Linked DNA regions of Homo sapiens: region 2 is linked to region 1. The links are contacts of gene promoters, found by promoter capture Hi-C in human tissues and cell types (Jung and others, 2019). All regions are on one chromosome and are shown on one strand. The core of a region is centred on a gene start or on the middle of the fragment in contact, and the rest is flanking DNA. Distances in the headings are between cores, read along the strand shown.

What was found. The method cuts DNA at HindIII sites, captures the fragments that hold promoters and counts their contacts. A contact is called where the count stands out against the background at its distance.
Region 2: a contact is called between a fragment that was not itself captured here and the fragment with the promoter of ADAMTS15 in region 1, in 1 of the 25 tissues and cell types used here (IMR-90 fibroblasts).

The regions. Positions count from the first base shown.
Region 1 is chr11:130,446,463-130,451,014 of GRCh38, forward strand. ADAMTS15 (ADAM metallopeptidase with thrombospondin type 1 motif 15) reads left to right here and starts at 2,183. Exons shown (of 8, transcript NM_139055.4): 1 at 2,183-3,468. The coding sequence starts at 2,512. The HindIII fragment of the contact is 14,209 bases long and covers 1-4,552 here.
Region 2 is chr11:130,708,472-130,713,235 of GRCh38, forward strand. LINC02873 (long intergenic non-protein coding RNA 2873) reads left to right here. Exons shown (of 3, transcript NR_164144.1): 2 at 4,723-4,764. Among named protein-coding and RNA genes, the nearest start is that of LINC02873, 38 kb to the left of the region's middle. The HindIII fragment of the contact is 9,577 bases long and covers 1-4,764 here.

The DNA.
Region 1 (4,552 bases), core at 933-3,432:
TTCCAAGAGTGGATCCTTTATGGGGAGAAGATAATGGGCAAAAAGTGCTCTTCACTGATGGACCAGTCCCAGCCTTTTCTCTCCTTGGACAATAGAGTTCTTCCCTTGAACAGCCACTTCCCTAAAAAAAATTCCAAAATTCTCCCACATCATCCCCTTTATGCTTAAAATCATCACACACTCCCTTCTTTGTCCTCCCCTCTTGCAAACTCAACTCAGAGCCCTTTGGCTCCAGAAAGATTTTCTAGGTATCAGGAGAGAGTAGCAAAGCCTCCCTCCTCTCCTTGCCTTTCTCCCTTGTCAGAGAAAGAAGTTGATTCTGCGGAGAGGTAAGAAGGATCTTGAGGTCTAGAGCCTGAAAAACTCCTTGGGCTGTTCTCCAAACTAGATGGGAACATAAGGTGCGATTGCATCTTCTCCAGCTGATACTCACTCGGCCTCCTATGCCAGTCCCCAGTCCAGGGTTTGGTCAAGGGTCAAATGAGATAATTTCATGGAGGAAGCCTGGCCCGATTTTTCTACTGTTTGCTGGAAGACAGCCTCTTCCTCTTGTAACTGCAGCCCCAGAACCTGATCTCCACATCCCTGCCAGGCAGGTAGCTGTGTACAAGGGCTCATCTTCCTGCCCCCAACCCCAGCTCTGATTTGCTTATTCAGGTGGTGTAAATACTTCTACCAGGACCTATTTCAAGCCATTGTGATGTCCCTGACTGGGGAGATGCAGGGCAGCACACCATTTAATATTTCCCTCACATTTCCACCCCATTCTGCACTCTTTTCTGGGAGTTGCTGTCTCAGAGGGTTGGCGGTTCTGGTGGCTCAAGACCATAAGTAATTATCAAATACTTAGGAAGCGACGGGTTTTGAGTATTTATTACCTTTTAAAAATGTACTTTGTGGCTAGGCATGGTGGCTCACGCCTGTAGTCCCCGCACCGGGAGGCCGAGGTGGGTGGATTGCTTGAGCTCAGGAGTTCAAGACCAGCCTGGGCAACACGGCGAAACCCAGTCTCTACCAAAAATACACACACACACACACACACACACACACACACACACACACACACACAAATTGGCCTAGCGTGGTGTCGTGTGTCTGTGGTCGCAGTTACTCAGGAGACCAAGGTAGGAGGTAGGAAACCAAGGTAGGAGGATCACCCGAGGTCGGTAGTTCGAGACCAGCCTGACCAACATGGAGAAACCCTGTCTTTACTAAAAATACAAAATTAGCTGGGCGTGGTGGTGCATGCCTGTAATTCCAGCTACTTGGGAGGCTGAGACAGGAGAATGGCTTGAACCCGGAAGGCGGAGTTTGCGGTGAGCTGAGATCGCGTCATTGCACTCCAGCCTGGGCAACAAGAGCAAAACTCCGTCTCAAAAAAAAAAAAATATATATATATATGTGTGTGTGTGTGTGTGTGTGTGTATGTATATATATATATGTATGTGTATATATATGTATGTGTGTGTGTGTGCATATATATATATACACTTTGTTTAATTGTAAGTGTGTTTAGTTTAATTTTTAATAATGTCCGTGATTAACAGCTGGCTGGCAAGATTCCTGAGAACTGAAGAGTTTGCCCCAGCCCATCCAGCACACCATGGGCCCAGGGCAGACCTTGGGGCTAGGCGGTCTTGGGTTCCAGAGGGCTCCCATGCCCCTGTCCTATTGCTCTTCTGGCAATAGGACATTTACGCGGGGGGGGGGGTGGTTCTTGATTCTGGGTCTTTTAGGGGACTCTGTGATTAAGAAACAGCAGGGATGTTGCAACAGCAGGGATGAGGTGGGCCTGGGGACGGGTCAGTGAAGGGTCTTCATTCCTAGCTGCTGACCTGATCTGCCCTGAGATAAAAGACTAAGACCCAGAGAGTGAACGCTGTCCGCGGGGGCAGAAGCGAGTGAGGCGTCGGGACAGTGGGGCATAACCAAGAGCAAAACGCAAACTGAGACTTCAGCGCCGGTTTCTCGGGCCAGCCCACGCCTCCTGCCTCAGCTCAATGCCACTCCCTCCCCGCCAAGTGGCTCTCCGCTCTGGAGGCGGGACCGAGTTCTCCGGTGGCCCCTGGAGGCTCCGGCAGCGAGCTCTGGGAGGCTGGGAGGGGAGTGAGGGGAGGGGCGCTGACTGGGCCGTCCAAAGAGGAGGGGGCCTTTAATAGGCTCGCCCAGCGCCTGGCTTGCTGCGCTGCGAGTGGCTGCGGTTGCGAGAAGCCGCCCGGCACCTTCCGCTAGTTCTCGGCTGCAAATCTTCGTCCTTGCACTTGACAGCGATTGTACTTAAGCTCCCAGGGCGCGCTTTGCTTGGAAAGGCACAGGTAGGAAGCGCGGGCTGCCGGGTGCACGCTCGCCGCCCTGGGAGGAGTCTCCCTCCCTTGGCTCTCCTTTCTGGGAACTGCCGGCTGTCCCGTAGCGTTGGCGGTTCCAGAGTGCGGGCTGCACGGAGACCGCGGCAGCGGCCGGAGAGCCCGGCCCAGCCCCTTCCCACAGCGCGGCGGTGCGCTGCCCGGCGCCATGCTTCTGCTGGGCATCCTAACCCTGGCTTTCGCCGGGCGAACCGCTGGAGGCTCTGAGCCAGAGCGGGAGGTAGTCGTTCCCATCCGACTGGACCCGGACATTAACGGCCGCCGCTACTACTGGCGGGGTCCCGAGGACTCCGGGGATCAGGGACTCATTTTTCAGATCACAGCATTTCAGGAGGACTTTTACCTACACCTGACGCCGGATGCTCAGTTCTTGGCTCCCGCCTTCTCCACTGAGCATCTGGGCGTCCCCCTCCAGGGGCTCACCGGGGGCTCTTCAGACCTGCGACGCTGCTTCTATTCTGGGGACGTGAACGCCGAGCCGGACTCGTTCGCTGCTGTGAGCCTGTGCGGGGGGCTCCGCGGAGCCTTTGGCTACCGAGGCGCCGAGTATGTCATTAGCCCGCTGCCCAATGCTAGCGCGCCGGCGGCGCAGCGCAACAGCCAGGGCGCACACCTTCTCCAGCGCCGGGGTGTTCCGGGCGGGCCTTCCGGAGACCCCACCTCTCGCTGCGGGGTGGCCTCGGGCTGGAACCCCGCCATCCTACGGGCCCTGGACCCTTACAAGCCGCGGCGGGCGGGCTTCGGGGAGAGTCGTAGCCGGCGCAGGTCTGGGCGCGCCAAGCGTTTCGTGTCTATCCCGCGGTACGTGGAGACGCTGGTGGTCGCGGACGAGTCAATGGTCAAGTTCCACGGCGCGGACCTGGAACATTATCTGCTGACGCTGCTGGCAACGGCGGCGCGACTCTACCGCCATCCCAGCATCCTCAACCCCATCAACATCGTTGTGGTCAAGGTGCTGCTTCTTAGAGATCGTGACTCCGGGCCCAAGGTCACCGGCAATGCGGCCCTGACGCTGCGCAACTTCTGTGCCTGGCAGAAGAAGCTGAACAAAGTGAGTGACAAGCACCCCGAGTACTGGGACACTGCCATCCTCTTCACCAGGCAGGTGAGTTGATCTGCCGTCACTTTGCACCCAGATAGTCCCGTTCTTTAGGGTCACCTCCCCTAGCGCTCCAAATCCCCTTTGTATCGTGCAATGCCTCCGAGTTTAAACCTCGTTGATCTCTTCCGACTCCAACTCTGTGGAGTTTCCAGGGAGAGCCCTCTCCCACGCTCCGCGGAGCGGCGGCTCACGTGCATCTGGGCCATTGGAGGAGAGCCTGCGCTTTCCGAAGGTGTTGGCCTGGCGCGGCCAATCAGCGCCTCCTGGATCAGGCGCCGAGGGGCCGGAACCCAGGAAGTTGCCGCCCCGGAGCTGCAGTTTGTGTCCAAGACCGATAGGAGACGCCGTGAGGATGGTGTTGGAGAGGGCGGGAACGGCCCACCCCTATTGTATGGGCGGCTGAGTCTTCTCGGACACCTCCTGAGGTCTCCTTTCAAGGGTTGTAGAACTGAAGGTGATCCAAGGTCAGCGCTTGCTACATTTCTCTCGGGTAACACGTTGTCCCCTCTCTGTACTGGGCCTGGAAAGCCTGGATTGGGGTGGAGGGAATCATTGAGAGATTTTGTGGGTTGCAGTGACAGGCCAGACTCAAGTACTGCGAGCATCCCTCCTTCACTGCCGCTTCTCCTACAGACTTCTCTGCTGGGCATGGTCCAAGAGGCTTCTAGACCATTCTGAGCAGGCGGTGTAGTTAGGGCACCTGTTTGGAGCTGAGACTGTTTCACTTGGAGTTTCAAGTGGAGTTTTACTTGGAGCTGAGTTGGGAAAATCTCTTCCAATTTTCCTGTATCCTTGCTGTCAGAGGGTGACCCGTTTGCCCAGATGTATACTACAGAGCAGAGCGGGCATGCTTGCTCCTGCTCCCAAGTCACTAAAATTCCTATGACCACACTTGACTTCAGGGCTCTAGCTTCTGCCCTTGCTGGGGTGGAAGTGGTGTGAGCTTAGTCAAGAGTATTTGGAGATTCCAGCTGTAGAGTTAGAAGGAAACTGAGTATTGGGATTAGAAAGATGGACCCAGCCCAGGAAGCAGCCCTGCCTTTTGCAAGGCCTTTCCTGATATTCTATGTCAAAGAAGCTACAAATC
Region 2 (4,764 bases), core at 239-2,738, 260 kb after region 1:
TCTTCCCCCATGGAATAGAGGAAAATAGGCAAATCATATATCTGATAGGAGATTAATATCCATAAAATATTAAAAAAAAAACTCTTACAACTCAATGACAAAAACAACCCAATTAAAAAACGGACAAAGGATTTGAGTAGACGTTTCTCCAAAGATTATACAGATGGCTAATAAGCACATCAACAGATGTTCAGCATCACTCATCATTAGAGAATTGCAAGTCAAAACCACAATTACACAAAGTCATTAGAATAGCTATTATCAAAAATAAAAACAAAACAAACAAGTATTAGCAAGGATATGGAGAAATTAGAACCCTTGTGCATTGCTGCTCAGAATGCAAAATGGTGCAGTGCTATGGAAAACAGTATGGCAGGCCCTCAAAAAATTAAACAGAATTATCCTATGATCCAGCAAATCTACTTCTGAACATACGCCCAAAGGATTGAAAGCAGGAACTCCAGCAGGTATTTGTACATCAATGTTCATAGCAGTGTTTTATTCACAGTAGGCAAAAGGCAGAAACAACCCAAATGTCCATTGATGGATGAATGGATAAACAAACTGTGGTGGGCATATGCATGGGGTATTACTCAGCCTTAAATGACAATGAGATTCTGATACATGCTACCTCCTGGATGAACCTAAAGATACTACGCTAAGTGAAATAAGCCAGGCACAATTGAACAAGCATTACATGATTCCATTATATGCGGGGCTGGAGGAAAGGAAGAGTGGAAAACTGTTGTTTAATAGGTATGGAGTTCAGTGTGGGAGGATGAAATGGTTCTGCAGGTGGATGGTGGCGATGTTTGCTCAACCATGTATATATATTTAATGCCACCAATCTGTACACTTAAAATGGTTAAAAATGTCAAATTTTATGTTACATTTCTTTTACCACAATTTAAAAAAATTTCCTGAGAAATCCAAATGACAAAAGTGATCAGCCTGGGGAAAATGTAAATGGATGGCTCCCTGGGGGAGCAGAGTCTTCAGGGAAGTCATGACCGCAGAGGGAAGACCTAGGGATGCTTGTCAAAGGCTCACACACAGCTCTGCATCAGCTTGTGTGTGGACAGCGTAGGGAGGCCTGGTCTGGCAAGGGCAGCAGGTGTTGGGGCTCTGGGTGAATGACGCTGGGTGAACATGGGGTGGTGGCAAGGAGTCTGCAGGAAGAGAAGGGCCGGCTGGTGGGGCTGGGTCAGAGCCCAGACAGGTCAATGGGAAGGGCTGTGTGCTGGAAGAGGGACTGGTGCTGCTGTGTTATCAGAACAATCTGGGAGAGAGACAGCAAGGGAGGAAGTCTGGGTGAATGGCTAGGACCTGTGGCAGCAGCCCAGGCCTGAGGTATCAGGGCAGGGGGTGGTAACAGTGGGGACGGGAGGCCCTGGCAAGCCTTAGCAGTCAGGCATGATTCCCATATTGTCTTCCTGGTCACCAGTGGATGCCCGGATCCTGTGCCTTGGGAAGGTCAGGGTTGAAACACCACCACCCTCTTCTTTTTGCAACTTTTCTGTTCTTCTTGTGGGCTCCTTTTGAGTTAGGTGTGTACAAGGAATAGACTTTAGGGTTTATCTGGGGAGTTTCTTCAAGTGGTTCTCTCATATAGTAAATGAGAAAGTTGGGTTAGATGACAGCTACAGCTCTTTCCTGCTTTTAAACACTGTGATTCATTTACTTGATTGATAATTGCTCAGTTCTTTCCATGTGCCAGGCACTGCGTGAGCCCATAGCTCGTACAACCGTGACCAAGAGGGCAAGCATCTGCTCTCATGTGGCTGCCTCTCCTGCCTTTGTGCCATTCCTGTTAAATGAACTCGTGTGTGCCATGGTGCCCGGCTCATACCTGGAGAGAGTAGTTGCTACACATGGTACCTATTGTGCTCACTGCTTCTCCTGGCTCTAGGTCCCACATCAACTCATCCTTCATCACATTGTCACTTCTCATGTGTGCTGTTTGCCCACACACCTTTCCTTTCTCTTTTCAGTTGTTATAATGCTAAGTCCAGATTACCAGCAGACACCACCACAGCATAGCCGTGAGCTCACCAGGCTTGAAGCAGGCCTAGCATTGCTTAGCAACTGTGAAAATAGCTTCAGCAGGCCCCACGGGACGCTCGAGAACCTCATCTCTGGGGTGTGTGGGAACGGAAGAGCTTCAGTTGAAATAAAGATGCAAACAAACCGAATTGGTCCCCAGACATCACGCTTCACATTGCCTGACACTCAGCGGAATGAGATACTTGTGTCCCACTCTCTCAAGCACCAAGTAAGCAGTCAGGGCTGGAGAATCTGCAAGCTGTCTCTTAGGGATACACACATAGCTTCACACACAGACAAACAACGATGTGCAAATCCAGCTGCACATGCATACCCGGTTCGGGCTGACTTCCTATTCCATCAGTCTGCATGGAGTCAGGTTGCTGTTTGCATGTCAGAGCCCATGGGTCATCGTGAGTGTTTGGATTAGTGAATGAGGACAAAAGTGGCTTCTGTCAGAGATGTTATGCAATTACATGTGATGGATGCTCGCTTCCCTCCCTGGTTCTTCTCCACTGCGCAAACTTTGTAATAGGTGGGAAGGTTCAAAACCCTTAAAGGCCAAATGCCACACCAAGTGGGGAGGTAGGGTGGGTGTTAAGGAACTAATTTCTCTCTCTGCACCAACTGGTGCTTCTGGTTTGCTTCTGGAGATGCCTTAGGTGCTCAGTCCCTGTAAAAGGAATGATTTTAAGGTGATGGAAAGAGACGTTTCAGCAGGAGAGCTATGCTGAGGAATTTTCTGCTATATCAAGAGTAGAAACAGGGCTGAGTGAGTGATTCGGTGACCTCATGAGGGTTGCCGCCCCCTGAGGCCCCCAGCTGTGGAAGATGATATGATCAGGAGAATGGCACGTTGCACTGACTTCCGGGTCTATAGAGGTCCAGTCTCCACCTCTGATTGTTGATTTGTCACAGCAGGGAAGAGTGAGGTTGGCTGGGCTCACATCTTGCAGAATGGCATTGCAGGCCCTGGGTCAAGTGGCTTGGGACTGAATTTTGGTTCTACCACTTAGTGGCTGTGTGGCTAAGGCAAGCCTTCGTATGTAAAATGAGACTAATGATAGCTCACAGGGGAGGCGAGAGACATTTTGGGGCTGTATGCATATGGTTAAAAGCCCGGACTCTAGCCAGCAATGACTTCTGTCACTATAACTTATACCCAACATGGTGTAAGTTTCTCATGCCCCTGGACTCTACAGCCAGCTCACCTCGAGTGCTTCTACCTGGCCAGGTGTCACTGGCTCTCCTGTTGCTCGACCTTGATGGCTTTACTGCTGCTTGATCACATCCTGTCTTTGGGCAGGTTCTTTAATTCCCCCTCCTTGCTCCTCTTGGCTTCCTTCACACCTCCTTGCCTCAATTCTCTTGGCATCAAGTTACCTCTATTTTCCTGAGCTTGTAGTTGACTCCTAGCTCATTAGAAAATTATCTATGTAGAACTCTTTAAGATAACTTAATATTGCAAGGTTTAAAAAAATATTGACCCAATTCATATGAGCTTAGACTTAGTGCTTCTACTTCTCCAATCATTTATCTTAGTCTTGCGGCTGGACTAGAGCCAGGATGCTTTGCTTCCAATCTTCTGACATTTTCCTCCTATGGAACTGAGGTGAGAATTAGGGTGACCCTGAATGTGTTGTGAGCCAGAGCTAACCCAGGATAAGTCTGGAATGAAACAGGGTCTGTAGAAATGGCTGTCTCCACATTCTTACCTTTAATTCACTCTGTATTTCACTCCAATTTGGCTTCCACTGTCACCAGTTTACTGAAATAGTTTTTGCTATAGGCAATAATTATGTTGCCTTCCCCTATGAACATTATTTGTCTTTTTTCTATTCTATTTTTAAAGTCAACTTATAGCTATTCAAAGTAGAAGGTATATTTAATTATTCAAAATCTTTGTGGCTGATACAAGCATTAGAAAAAGAATGCATAGTTAATAATTGTGAGTATGGGCAGTTTCACAGATTAATTTACTTTCTGGAAATCTAGAATCTCTAGAATGTATTAAAGTTATAAAGAGGTTGGATTAACTCATTTTATTTTGGTAAGAACACTTAACATGAGATCTTTCCACTTGAAAAGTTTTATGTGCACAATACAGTATTGTTAACTAAGGACAATATTGCACAACAGATCTGTAGAACTTATGCATCTTGCATAATGAAACTTTATACCCATTGAACAGCAATTTCTATTTTGGCTAAATGTAACCACATTAAAATACTTGATATTGTCTTTGGTCATGAAGCATAAATGTATAATGGTAGATGTATTTTAATCCTAATTCAGGAATGATATTTAAACAAAACTCTCACTCAGTAAGATATACATGACTACATTAGGAAAATCACATTCTAAGTTTTATAGAACACTCTCAGGTGATGTTAACAGATCAAAAAATAAGGAGAACCAATGCTGTCTTATACATATTTAAGCTGGGAAGTTTCTCAAGTAGTAGAGTCATATTCAGGAAGTAATATTTAAAATATAAACTCTTAATTGCAGTCGCTTCTCTGTTAAGTCCATCTCTTTCAGATTCTTCGGTTAACAGCAATACTCTAAAAATCAACTGTAAAATCTTAGCTTGCAATGTTTTGATTTTTTCCTGAATTTTGAAACTTTTAAAGTGCTATTACATGTCTTATAAATGAAATAAATTAAACATATTCTCAGGAGACTACAACTCAGGAGCAGCTGGATGAGATGGAAGAGATC